Regions from separate parts of the Homo sapiens genome. Here region 1 is linked to region 2. Evidence: promoter capture Hi-C in 16 types of primary human blood cells and fetal thymus (Javierre and others, 2016). All regions are on one chromosome and are shown on one strand. The core of a region is centred on a gene start or on the middle of the fragment in contact, and the rest is flanking DNA. Distances in the headings are between cores, read along the strand shown. Region 1 has its middle 62 kb from the start of LINC01427. Region 2 holds the start of CST9 (cystatin 9).

Region 1 (7,007 bases), core at 2,857-5,356, 1.3 Mb before region 2:
AAAGTAACAGACAAAAAAAAAAAATCACCAGCAGTTTCAGCACTTTAAGTTCCAGTCCTCTTCTATGAGTCACTTTTCAGAGTCCTCACAGCTGCCCTGTGCCTTATGTTCAGGTTTTATAGCGACATCCGCTGAGCAAGATGAGTGGCATGTGCTTATCCCATTATACGTGGGACCAGGACTTCTTATTATTTAGATATTCACATGACCAGTGCCAAATGGATATATCGGCTATAACATAAAGTGACCTGCACCTCTCAAAAATGCCAAGGTCAAATCAGACAAAAACTACTGAGGAGTTGTCCAAAATTAAAGCAGACCGAAGAGACGGAGCATAGCTCTAAAGTATATCACTGGAGAAACTGGCAACATTTAAATACAGTCTGTGGATTGAAAGTATTGTATCCAAGTTAAATGTGCCGATTTGGGTAACTGTTATGGTTATGGAAAGGGATATCCTGTTCTTTGGAAATAGACACCAAAATATATATTAGGCAGAGGGGATGCTATCTTTAGCTCACTTTCAAATGGTTCAAAATGCACATACACATACACTCTCTCTCACATACATATGCATGCACACGCGCACACACACACACACCTGCACATGCATGCAAGCTGAGGGGTGTAGAAGAAGGAACAATCCTAAAGGGACTGCTATTCCTAACCTGACCCTGTCCTAGGCCACCAGCACACAGCACCCAACCAGCATTCAACCTTCCGACTGGACATGGACACCCTCTAGTTGCCTCAATGGCTCAGGGCACATGCGGAGGGCTGGCTGGGCCCAGCTGACAAGAATTCATATATTTGGTGAACTTCCTTAGAGTGAAATAGACAGGCTCACAAGCTTGTTCCGTGAGATACACACACACACACACACACACACACACACACTCCCCACTCAATGAGTCGTTAGAATGGAGAAGCACATGTTTAAAATCCATAAAACAAGACATAGAACAACAGAGTAGCTTGATGGTGAACTCGGCATCTTTGTGGCTGTGTTCATGTGGCATTCATTCATTCATTCATTCATTCGATAAATGTTTACTGAGCTACCACTTGCAAGGAAGTGCTGACAATAGTCCTGTAAAAAAGACACTTTCTCTGCACTCCTTAAAATGACAATCTTTTGGTGGAGAATTATTAGCAGGGTTTATTGGGCCCCACCTGGGGAACTCAGGTAGAAATAAGAGGACAGTTTTGCAGAGGGCTGCAAGTCTCCCAGTGCTGCACAGAGGAAAAAGCTTGAGAACTTCAGTTGAATATTGTCAGGCTAACACCACGCTTGTCCCTGGAGACCTGGGACCACAAGACAGAAAGAAGGCTATTAGGTCTTAGGGACTCTACCCTGCTAAGGAGTTTGGACGTTTTGTTTTTGGTGTTTTGTTTTGTTTTGTTTTGTTTTGTTTTGTTTTGTTTTGACAGAGTCTTTCTCTGTTGCCCAGGCTAGAGTGCAGTGGCACGATCTCGGCTCACTGCAAAGTCTGCCTCCCAGGTTCAAGCAATTCTCCTGCCTCAGCCTCCTGAGCGGCTGGGATTACAGGCGTCCGCCACCGTGCCCGACTAATTTTTGTATTTTTTAGTAGAGACGGAGTTTCACCATCTTGGCCAGGCTGGTCTCGAATTCCTGACCTCCTGATCCACCCACCTCGGCTTCTCAAAGTGCTAGAATTACAGGCGTGAGCCACCGCTCTCGGCCGGAGTTTGGACTTTTGATAGGACACCCGATGCAATTGATTGATGTGTGTGTGTGTGTGTGTGTGTGTGTGTGTGTGTGTGTGTGTGAGATCCATTGAATGTGGACGCTCAAGGCCTGGACAGAGTAGGAAGTGCACAGAAGGCTGAGCAGGCAGGCACGTGGGTGGGACTCAGGCCCACCTCTGGCCCCAGAAGGGGATGCCAGGCGGTGGGGACCAGCTTAGACAGGCAAAGGGGACTGTGGGAAGGTGTGGGAAGCTGTCCCAGGCTGCAGACCCACCAGGGTACCCTGAAGGCTGGCCCTGGAGAAGGTATTTAAGCCAAGAGGTGAGTGCCCAAGCCGGAGCCTGGCCCAGGGGACACGGTTGGGCCTGTTTCGGGGCACCCGGAACCTAGGGACTGGCATGGCCGGGACCTCCCGGAGCTGCTGCTGGAACTCAAGGCGCCTCTTCCGGTTGGACTTCAGCGGCTACTGGAGGCAGGCGTGGAGGGGGTCGTTCTCCTGCCGGTGGTCCAGACAGAAGTTGACCTGGTCCAGGATGTGATGGCAGCATATTCTGCTTCCCGGAAGCCGTCGCCCTTGCCTTGGTCTCCCGCTGTCCCCGCACGCCCACGTTCCGCATGGGACCTGACTCAGGCACCAGGAGGGCCCCGCGACGAAGGAGCGCGGCGACCTTCGCTCTGAAAGCGGGAGCCGGGTGGGGGCATTGGGGGTGGTCAGGGAGGATCGCAGATGCGTTTTAGACAATAAGACAACAGACAGTGGCGATTCCCAACCCTGGCTGCACAATAGAATGAGGGCCTTTTGGGGTCTCAAACTGATCTAAGAGTAAAGTCTAATAATTTTTAAAAATCACCCTAGGCCAGTGGTTCTGAAAATATGGTCCAGAGACCCTCGAGGCCCTAAGGATCCTTTTCAGAGGTCCATAAATTCAAAACTATTTTCCTAATACTGTGCTCCTGAGAAATGACTTGCTTTATTCACTAGTGTACTCGGGATTTCCAGAGGCGAGGGCACATGGGATGTTCCAGCAGATCAAAAGCAGAGGCAGACACGAAATTCCAGGTGTCTTGTTAAGCCAGTCTTTAAATAGAAGGCAAGCAGGTGAAATTCTTTCCGCCCAGCTTCTGTTTTGGAAAAGTATAGTATGTTTCATAAAACTGTTCATTTATGTTACATAAGTATTATTTTATTTATTTATTTATTTATTTATTTATTTGAGATGGAGTCTCTCTCTGTCGCCCAGGCTGGAGTGCAGTGGTGCGATCTTGGCTCACTGCAACCTCTGCCTGGGTTCAAGTGATTCTCTTGTGTCAGCCTTCCGAGTAACTGGGATTACAGGCAAGCCCCACCACGCTCCGCTAATTTTTGTATTTTTGGTAGACACGGGGTTTCACCATGTTGGCCAGGCTGGTCTCGAACTCTTGACCTCAAGTAATCCGCTGGCCTCTGACTCCCAATGTGCTGGGATTACAGGCTTAAGTCAAGGCACTGGGCCGATTAATGCATAAGCATTTTTAAATCTCAGTTATATTTTCTAATACATTAACTATCAGTAGATAAGCCCACACAAACCAAATCTCTTTACATTGTCAATAATTTTAAAAGTATAAGGGGATCCTGAGACCCCAAAGTTTGAGAACCTCTGTCTAGACATTAATACTAAAAGATAAAGAGTAGCCTTAAGAGTTACCTAACAAGGGATTCAAGGAGGGTTTTTTAAATTATTCATTTACAGAAGCTGGGGCCAGGATGGACCCTGAATGTACAAGTAGGTCAGATCCACAAAGGCCACATTTGCAGCTGCCTGGTCTCCCCTTCGTCCTTCCTCATCAATTCCCATCCACCAGAAGCTTGGATTTGGCATAAAATATTGATCCCCTAATTCTGAATCTCATCCTACAGACCTTGTTTCTTGCACAAGCTGAGTTCACCATAAATACAGAGCAGGGGAGTTCCTTTGAAAGTGGCAGATTGTTAAGAACTGCTTTGGAAAGCTGATCATAACTCTTGCCTCTTGTTACCTAGATTAACTTTCCTGCATGGTTTGCGGGTTCTCTATGGCTATTTCTCTCTTTCTTACAGTTTAATAAAGGATTGGGTTGAGCCATATAAAATGATCATTTTTGCAGGAAAAAAATAACTGGATATCGGCAATTTTATATGATGTAACCTAATACATTGCATGGCATTGTCACATTGTATTTTATTTAACCCAGGCAAGAAATGTGCTTTGCACCCTTGAGTATATGCAAGAACAGCTACCAAAAACAGTTATTCTGAAAATGGCAAGATGTCTTAAAAAGGATAGAAGCCCTTGCTTCTTGGCCTTATTCAGGGACCTTGCTGCTGGTGTGTAGTTGAACATGAGAGCAAAGCAGGGTCTACTGATTCCAAAGTCTGTGCTGTCAGACCATGGTGGCTAGACATTGAAGTAACCAGCAATTTATTAACTAGCACATCTCTGTACTCCATTGTGATGCTAACCTCCATTTCTCATGTGAATCATTGCAGGATTCTTAGAGTATATTCTCAGGTCTAGGAAAACTTAGATTACACCCTTTATGACTCCTGTAAACAATGTATTATATTGCGAGTTGGTAATATGTACTATTTAACTCAAAGTTTTTGTCATCTGAAAAATGCAGGTAATAATAATATCTACCTAAATGTGTGCAATAATTTAAAGGAAGTTCTTGGTTTATACTAGGCGTGGCCTTGGGGCTCAGTAAATACTATTTTCTCCCTTTCACCACCAAAAATGCATATACACTCATGTGTATGTACAAATTCACGCAACACACACTCTCATGCAAGAACACCCTTGCACATACAAGGATACTCGCTCATACATACATGCTCACACAGTGCTAGTATGCATGAACACTAGTATATGCTGGGGGCAAACACGAATGATAGTGGTAACCTCTTATCCCACTGTGTCTCCATGAAAGCTTTAAAGGGACCACTGTGGAACAGAAGGAGCATAAATCCAGAACTCGGAAGCATCTTCTTATTCTTCTCCTTTGTTCTTTGGTGCATTATGTTTGTTGTAAAATCCCTAGGCCTCTCAACCAGGTTTTCTCATCTGCAAGATGAAGGCATGGAAGATGATAGCAGCTTCCTGCAATTTGAAAGTCATTTTTTGACAAATGTGATCAACATCTTTTGTGTCTGGAGGCACAAGTTCAGACCCCAACTACATCCCATGGGAGTTCACTGATTTGAAGCACTGCTTCCTCCTCTCTTACAGTAAGTATGGGCAGCCCGATAGGTCTTTGTGATAATTAAATGAAATATAAGAACACCCCTACCCACTCTGTGAGGATCTGTGATCTCAGCTATGTCCAGCAGGACAGATGACACCCGGTCCTTCATGTGACAAGATCCTATTTCTCCCACACTTCTCTCTCCCAGAGTCCCAGGCAGAGCCCCACTCCCATGCCTTGACAGTGAAGCAGAAAATTTTCCTGCCTCCTTTGAATGAACTTAACACTATGTTCACACATCATATAAGGAAAAAAAAAGGAAAGAAACCCCTCACACCCACTCTGGTACACCTTGGTGTTTGCCATTATTAGAACAGCAAACGAAATACTATTGATTCAGAGGGTTTGTGGTTTACCGACCTAGTGCAGTTAAGTTCCTCTTCCTACCCCCATGACTCATGAATACACATCAAATCCTAAATAGTTTATTTACCGTTTGAACAGTTTTTTGCTTCTTGTCCTATTTCCCTCTGGACAGACAACCCAAAACGCTTTCTTTACCCACAGAAACAAATTTAAAAACAAGAAATACAGTTCTAGGAATAAAGAAAGATGTAAGAACGTTAATTTTATGACAAAAGAAACCTCATTAGAGAGTCTTATAGGAAAAAATATCTGAGTTCCAATTTATATCCCGCCATAATAAAACCTGTTTTACTCCAAAATTGTCCTGGATTGGATGAGAAACAATAGAGTAACCTCACTGAGAAGCAGAGCACTCAGCTTGGGTGAGTGGGGGCCAAGGCAGGAGCGAGCAGGAGCTAGTGCAGACGTCTGCTTTCTGGATGCGGGAACCAAGGGGCTTGCCCGTTAACCCTTCCTAATTCACATACCCTTTAAAACCTTACTGCTTGAGGCATGGTCCTGGACCGAGGGTCACCTGGAAGCTTATTGGAAAAGCAAACTCACAGACCCCAGACCTGGTAAACCAGCAATCTGCATTTTAACAGAGGCCCAAGTGATCTGAATAGACACTCACGTCTGAGAGCAGTGCCTTGAAAAGCTTTGCCAGAATGCTGTGAAGCATAAGCCGTATGACTTGATCTGTGGTCCGTTAGAATTCACAGGATAACTTTTCCAAAGTCTTAAATTAGAGGATTTCAGAATTAAAAGGACCTTCCCTCAACCTCTTTAATGCATGAGTTCCCTGAGAGTGGCCCCACTGGAAGACTCTGGTGTCACATCAGAGGAGTTTGTCCTCTGGGAAGAGTTTTTCAACAGTGCTTCCGTGGGGCGAGAAGGAACATGCTTCCTCTTAATTTCCACTCGCCTGTACATTATACACATTACAGAGCCACTCAGAGAAAAGATTAAGCTTCTTTCTCTGCAAAGGATTTTTGGAACACTGAAACGACCTGCATGCCTGATCCTATATCCAATTTCTTCCCAAAGAGCTCTAGTAGGTTCAGAATCACACCCTTAAGGAAGAGTATCCACAGAGTGGCCCTGGACCTACCTCTCTGCTGGAGAGGCCACATGAAACTGTATCAATATGCAAAGATGCTGGTCCTTTCACACTTTTCTGATGAACTCGGGTGTTATTAAAATTATGGGTATTTGCTTATTTCCCAGGCAGTCCCATGGAGAGCTGAGGCTGGCTAGACACTGGGACTGACTGTTGTTATCTATGCCTGTTGTCCACGTGACAGCCAGGGCTAAAGACAAGACTTTCTGTCTCTATCAACAGCCAGAGTAAATCCTCATGAAACAATATTCGGTACTAGAGATACCAGCTGCAGCAGAAAATATACAGATCATAGGCACTGAACTCCAACAAGACACAATCTAGTCCAGAGATAGGCCGCAGGAGTGCAAATATCAGTTTATCACTTAAACTTGTTTGATGTTCTTGGCAGTAGTTCTAAGCACTGAGGAAGTAAGTCTAAATGGTCTTCAGGCAGCCAAGTTAAAGAGTATCCTCAATAATCCAATAATCTAATAATAATAACCACCTAGTGCATCCTTCCTCTGTGCCTGATTCATTCATGGCATTTTATGTTATCTTTTGTGAGTATATGACTAACTTCACTGTG
Region 2 (7,184 bases), core at 4,068-6,567:
GCCTATAAGAAAGCAATAACCATATATACACAGCGATAAATATAAAAGAAGCATTCATCATACCACTTTTCATAATACAAAAAAGTAGAAAAATTTAAACAATTAATTATGGGAACTGACTAAATATAAGCTCCAGCTCTGAGGAGCTGCAGTGCAGAGGGCCAGGCTGTCAGGGCCAGTGCAGCCTCTCTCTTCTCCAGAGGCACCGTCCTGTTGCCTGGGGTCTAGAAACTCTCCTTTTTCTTTACAATCAGGCATAGTGTTCTGACCCCTTCCCCAATTCAGCGTGCAATGAAGAAGCCATTCTCAGCCTCATCCCAATGCCCTTTGAGGTGAGTTACTTCTCACTTGTGGTTTGGTCTGCATGCACCCCGCAATGATGGCTTCTGAACCTGCACCATTCCAAGTGTGGTCTGGGTACCAGGAGCAGGTCCGTCCCAGGAGAGGTGGTGAGACATGCAAATTCCCTGGCCCTGCCCAGACCTAGTGGTTCAGATTCCTGGGGGATAGGGAGAATAAGAACTTAGGTTTAGGGTATTTAGAACTTGCCTTCAGGGTATTCTAGTCCCTTTGAAGTTCACAAGTAACTACAGATAAATGCTGAAGGCATCTTCATGGAGAAGAAACTTAAGTCTTGTCCAGAAAGAGTACTTTATTTAATTTTTAGCTGGAGGATGTGATGGTTTCTTTCTCGAGGCCAGACTGTGGACCATAGGGGTATATCCTGCTGGGAGGCAAATGCAGAAATTCAACCCTGAATTGGGTGCCCTGAGGCTGGGGAGACTGGGACATATACCTGCTCACTTCCAGTGACAGAATGTGACTCTCAGATGTGACCTTTCCCACACCTGCAGGGTGCACCTGCTCTGCTGATGGAGCTCATTTGCACAGATCAACCCCTGAGTGAAGCTGGGGGAGATACAGGTGCCTGGCGTGGGAGCTGGTAGCATGGTGTGTCTCAGGGGCACCAGGGTCCAGAGGAGCTCTTAGCATCAGAGACTGGTAACTATGGCCTGAGGCCCAAGCAGCTCACTGCCTGTTTGTGTAAATAAACACTTATTGGAACACAACCACTCTTACATGTTTGCACATTGGCTATTGCTCCTTTCAAGATACGACAGCAATTCTGAGTAGCTGAGAGAGACCATCTGCCCACAAAGGCCAGAATAGTTACTCTCTGGCTTCTTCAGAAAATTTTTTTGCCAAACCCTGGTTTAGGTGATTTGGGCAATGTCTTGGTAGCATCTAGTCTGCCCGTGCCTCTCACACTGCATCCCCTGGGGGTGTGCATTCCTGCAAATCCTGCATTTTCAGGGGATTTCTGCATCCCTGGGGATTTGTAAGAGCGCAGATGCATTTTCCAAAGGTCAGAGGCCCTGAAGTTGGACATTTCTAAGATTCTTTCAGAAGATGCTGCTGCTCCAGATGCCAGGACAGCTTTATAAGGGTGAGGCTAGAAGTCCTTCCTCTTCCCACCAACCTTCCACGAACCAGGAAAGGTGTGTGAGCCACCCCTTGAGAACAGAGGCCACATGTGCTGAGTGGGACCCAGAGGCCCTGTCTTGCTCAGTTGTGCACATTGGGTGTCCTGCAAGATCACAGACATTTTACCTCTGGCCACATGGGTCATCATCAGCCACGAGCATGGAGACAGCAGCTCAGACTTATCTTGGTTGTGCCACCTGGAAGCTGGCTTATGAGGTCTTAAGGGAGGGAGGACCCCACTGACACAGATGCAAATAGGCTGCCCTTCTGAGAGGAACTCCATCAACTGCTCAGCCCCCTCCCTCCAGAACATGGCACAGGAAGCTTCTGCAAATGCTGATGTTTAATGACCTATTCTACTTGAGGAACCTGGACAGTGAGGATTTTCTAAAATGCCAAGTCATAAAACCTCAGACACTTGCAAAATAAGAGAACAAATATGCACGGAGCTGCTCAGCCACTGATATGTCAACTCCTGGGAACAGCTGGTGTCCACGGGGGAGGGGGCAGCATGTGGCCAGGCATGTGAGTGGCTTCCACTCAGGAGAGCCCCTCTGAGCAGGTCTTGTTCAGGAGTTCAAAATATGTCTTCCAGGGCATGGTTTCAACAGTGAAGAAGCAGCTGAAGGTCCGAGGGAACAAACAGGAAGAGACAGTAGGGCGGGGTTTGGGGAGGTTCGGGAATCTTGTGGCATCTGCCCTCAACACAGGTTCCATCTCCACCTTGCCCATTCCTGGGGCCAGCAATTGTGCCACGTGGCTCTGGCCTTCAGGTCTAGCCTGAGCCTGAGGCCAATCCTGAACTACAACGTGATTTGAGGCTCCCTCCCTCCTTAGCCAGGGTCACTTGTGCCATGCCTCCTCCTCCAGCCCGTGCCCCTCAGGGGAACCCCAGGCTGTCCTGGTGTGATCCCTGCATCCAAGAGCAGCAGGAGAATGTTTTGTCCCAGTGGAAGCAGTTCCCAGACTTAGGCAATTAGTTACCTATTTGTTAATCTTACAATAAGGGGGTTGACTAAGAATGGGAAGTTTTCCCAGAGCCAGGCTTTGCTTGGAGCTCGTCCCCTAGAGCAGGTGCTGCAGCTCAGCAGGGCCTAGGAGCGAGGGCAGTGGGGCTTCTTCTCAGCCTCCACCACTTTTGGGTCTAGGGCAGGGTAGGGAAACCCTGAGAAAAGTACCCACAGACATTGTCACCATTGTCTCCAGGCTCTTTCTCTAGAAGGCAGGGAAGAAGTGGGGAGGAAGACCAGAGAGAAGGTTCTGAAGGCCATGTGGCCCAGGTGCAGGCAGCTGCAATGGTGTCAGAGGGCAGAATCAGGAAACTCAGATTGGCCAGGGGCCTGAAAGTGAACCCCTGGGCTTAATGCCTCACTGGGCTTCCCACTAAGGCACAAGCAGGGCAGCCTGGTACAGCCTGCTGTGGGCTCACTTCCCTTTGTCCCTCGGAATGGCTTTGTCAGCTGCTCCTGTGCCCACACCACACCCCATGCAGCATCCACAGCTGTGGACCTGAGGAAAGCTGATGCCCTGTCTTACGTTGTTCAGCTCCAGGCTTTCTTGAAAAGGGCAGTTGTCAATGTCATCTTCAAATTTCCTACATACGGTTTGGCGCAGTTGCAGATTCATGGAGAACACCATCTTACCTCGCCACTGTTGGACAAAAGAAGATTAAAGTGGATGCACCGTCTTCCTGCCCCTAAGTAGCTACTAGTGAAGATGCCATTTGAGTAGGAGAGGCCCCAACACTTTACTGCATTTGAGAGCTTGCCCATGGGCCTGGCATCAGCTCACTGGAGGTGAAACCCAGGGGATCTTCTCTAGACTGAGGAGTTAAGAGCAAAAAGCAGGTGGGCATGGTGGGTCTGGGGAGGATGCAGGCTGAGTCAGACCCCACTAACACATTATCCACCTCCACCCACCCCCATTTCCCACGGTGAGACTCCAGCTTCACTCTCAGTAGGCATCTGATCTTGCAGCTGCATTCCCAGAGGACAGAGCCACATGTCCGGGAGGGTGTTGGATCTCCAAGAGTTTTCAGGGTAACTTCAGCCCTGGGACAGAGGGAGCCTCATCTACAGTGTGTTGTCAAACCTTCCAAGTGACCTCCAGCAAGAAGAATGACACACAGCGCTCCCACTACACACAGGCACACACCCTGGGAAAATGGGTTCAAGAAATACCATCTGCCCTATTGCAAAGTGCATGCTGAAGTTCTCCTTGCCCTCCTTCCCACTCCATTCTATTTAATTCCACTCCATAGCCTCCCTCTCACCCATCTATTCTTCCCAGCCCCCAAACTGATGCTGGGATTGCCATATCCAGGAAGCCATGTGGAAAGCTTTTAGGACTTACTGTCATTTAGGACTTATAGACCATAGTAAGGAGCTTAGATTTTATTCTAACGGTATTAAGAATGGAGGCTTACACTGAGGTCTTGGAGAATCAAGCAAAGCACTGGGAAAGCAGAAGCATGAGGCCTGGCCAATCTCAATCTCTGAGACTTCCAAGGTTCCAGCATGAATATTAGCAGCCACCATTACTGGACCAGATGCCCCTCTGAGGGTTGCATCAGGCTTTTAATTCTCCTGAGAGGAGGCAGCAAATGAGCAAGGAGGAAAATTCCTCTGTACCAGCATTGGAATCCTGAGGATGGCAGTGAGGAATCCACCCCAGGAGGCAGAGAACCAGCCAGAGCCTTGCACAGAGTCTTTCCAGAGCTTAAGCTCTGTGCGGTACTAGAGTCCCTCTGCCTTTCTTTCAGGCTCTTGGTGCTGAGAAAGGAAGAGCAATGCTCCTTCTCTCTCTAAACCAGAAGTTCTCCACTAGGAGGGCATTTTAATTGTTCATGCCTGAAGCCCAGATGAACTGTGCATTCCTGACCACATTTAATGATTTCATCAAAAAGGCAAGCATTTTAGGATAAAGGTCCATTGAGGAAGAGTGTAAATTGGCCTTCAGTTCATTAAGTGCAGACAGAGCAAGGAGCCCAGAGAAGGTGGAGATCAGAGAACTAACCTTTCACGGTGGCCTCTCAGGGCTGATGGTGTTCTTTATTGCCCTCGAATTCTCACTGTTCTCTCTCTGTCTGCCTGTCTCTCTCTCTCTCTGTCTCTCTCTCTCTGTCTGTCTGTCTCTCTCTGTCTCTCTCTCTCTCTCCCTCTGTGTGTCCTTGCTTTTCCATTTTCATTTTATGACCTGGAAATGTTTATCAGTCTCTTTGGTTATTTTCTCTTCTTGTCAGCTTCATCTCCTTAGAAGTCCTTATTTTGAAGTCACTCTTCAGTTATACAATGTCTTAAAAATCATGAAGATTGAAAAATATATTTTGCATGTGAATAGACATTTACCTAATTTAAAAAAAATTTTAAGTTCAATGTTTTCCAAAACTAAAACTACCGTAATTGGTTGTGGACTACCTGACTATGGACTGCTGATGGTGAACCAAGTCTCCTAGACTAGACATCTTGGTCCCTCACTTAGGGGCAGATGGAGAAGGACAGGCCAGAAGAGGATGTGGTCACCAACCTTTCTGTCCATGCTATCCTCCCTCCATGAACTCAGGACGCGCAACAGCCTGTAGGCATGCTCCTCCTTGCTCTGCACGTTGAAAGTGTTCAAGGCAAACTCCACTGTGGCGAGGAACATAGGATCCTGGACTATTTTATTATTACCACCCATTTCCTCTTCAGAACACCAGGCATAAGTCACCAGGAGCTGGAAGCCCATGAGAAGCAGTGACAGTGCCCAGGGCATAGCCTTCCTCCTCTGCGGACTCGACATGATGCAGGCTCCAGCAGCCCTTGCCTTTGCCCTTCAGATCCCTGGCGTCCACTGGAGCCTTCCAGGGCTCAGGTCTGGCCTTTAAATTCACCTGCTGGGGCAGAAACTCCTCCCTCCAGGCCTCACCTCTGCAGTTACACCCTGTCTCTCCCACACATGGCCTCCCTTCTTCCAAAGGCGTTTAAATCATCTCCTGTTTAGGGGAGAGGAACAGCACCCAGGCAGGTGGGTTGGAAAAGACTAGCAATGGGAGAGATAGTGCCCTGAACATGAGGCCCAGCCCCAGCTGCCCCAGCACCTCCGCAGGCTAAAGGAGACCTCTACTGGGCGCCCCAGAGTCAGAGCCCGGCACAGGAACACAAGTGTGAGAGGTATGAGTGGAAGGTGAGCCCTGGACTCAGCAGTGGGGGTGGGCTGGGAGGGGGAGGTTAGGTGGAAAGGCAGAGACAAAAGGATGGAAAGGGATGACAGTGGATGCTAGTATCATGGGTGAGCAGGTACAGCGCCCCGAGAAAGCACTGGGCCTCTTGAGAGAGAGGCGGGGAGCCCGGGAGGATTGGCGGGATGTCCTGCAGGTGTCTGCTCCCCCGAGGGTCTCGGGAGGGGGGCACCAGCCTGGGGGTCGTGGGCAGAGGTTGAGGAAATCAAGAGCAGGAGCCCCCAACCCTGTTCTCTGCACCTCCCTAAATGCAGCTTCCCAGCCCAGGGACGCGCTGCCAAGTGCTGGTACTAGGGGCCTGGCTAGTTATGGCTGCCCCTATTCCTCAAAGGTGTTTCCAGGACGGGTGGCCGCTTGCAATTGGAGCAGTGGAGAACCAGAAAGACGAAGATGCCCTCAGGGATGGCTGAAGTGCACCCATTAGGTTGTCACGGGTTCCCTCCTGTGGCCACAGCCGGCACAGCACTCTGCGGCACAGTTTGTGGGTGGAGATTCTGAGTTCTCGACCAAGACCCACATAGCCTCCAACTCCAACCGCAAATGGGGCTCTCAAAAGACTGAATAATGCACTCTTCACAGACCAGACTTAAGCTTTGTCCCTGTGAAATATGCCTTTGATGTTTATCCGTAGCTCCTTGTAAACTTCAGAAGCAACCAGCATCCCCTGATGTCACGTTAAAAAGCAAGTTCCTAGTTTCCCCACCCAAAGATTCTGACCCAGTAGCTGTGAGCAGGGCCAGGGAAACTACATTTCTCACCAGCTTCCAGAGGATGGTTGTGTTCCCGGTCTCAGAACCATACTTTGAGTGGTGCAGGTTCAGAATACTTCCTGGGAAGTGCATACAGACCAAACCACATATGAGAAGTAACTCAGCTTGAGGGGCATGGAGGTCAGGGGATGAGAATGGCTTTTGTGGGGCACACAGGATGGGGGACAGGCTTAGACAGCATGCCTGGTGATAAAGAATAAGAGTTTGTTTCTAGACCCTGTTTGCAAAGAAAAAGCAACTCAATGTGACAATTCCAGGAAAGCAGCCAGATGTGCCAAAAACATCACCCAAGGAGTCTGTATCCTTTCTCTGATGGCGTTGAGTTCACTGGAACTGCAGCTGAAGCGTAACTAATGTGGTTTCTTAGCTGGAGAGTGATGGTGCACGTAGGGGTAGGAAGGGGGTGTCAGTGAGGGCGGAAATGCCTTTGTGGGTTTTGGGATGAGCAGGCCATAAGGTGCTGTGAGAACTAGAATCCTGATGCCTGGAATAGGTTGCGAGTGTCCTGAGAGAGGCCTGCAATGCCCATGGAGGTCACTCTCACCTTGTAAGTTCAGCGGCTGACAAACTTGGGGCATCCTGCCAATTGCCAGTGGCTCCCCCACCATTCTGAGGGCCGATACCCACATGTGCTCCAAGGGAGTGCCCACACTCACTCTTACATGAGCAGTGGTTTAGGGTCCTGGGCACCAGCTCTGTCCTCACTGTGC

What was found. The method cuts DNA at HindIII sites, captures the fragments that hold promoters and counts their contacts. A CHiCAGO score of 5 or more calls a contact.
Region 1: a fragment that was not itself captured here is called in contact with the fragment with the promoter of CST9 in region 2 in 2 of 17 cell types (monocytes and naive B cells); the score reaches 7.3 in monocytes.

The regions. Positions count from the first base shown.
Region 1 is chr20:22,341,594-22,348,600 of GRCh38, forward strand. It overlaps the pseudogene BBLNP1. Among named protein-coding and RNA genes, the nearest start is that of LINC01427, 62 kb to the left of the region's middle. The HindIII fragment of the contact is 1,101 bases long and covers 3,557-4,657 here.
Region 2 is chr20:23,600,600-23,607,783 of GRCh38, forward strand. CST9 (cystatin 9) reads right to left here and starts at 5,318. Exons shown (of 2, transcript NM_001008693.3): 1 at 5,011-5,318; 2 at 1,811-3,135. The coding sequence starts at 5,265. The coding sequence ends at 2,911. RefSeq lists an enhancer at 1,767-2,268. The HindIII fragment of the contact is 2,472 bases long and covers 3,822-6,293 here.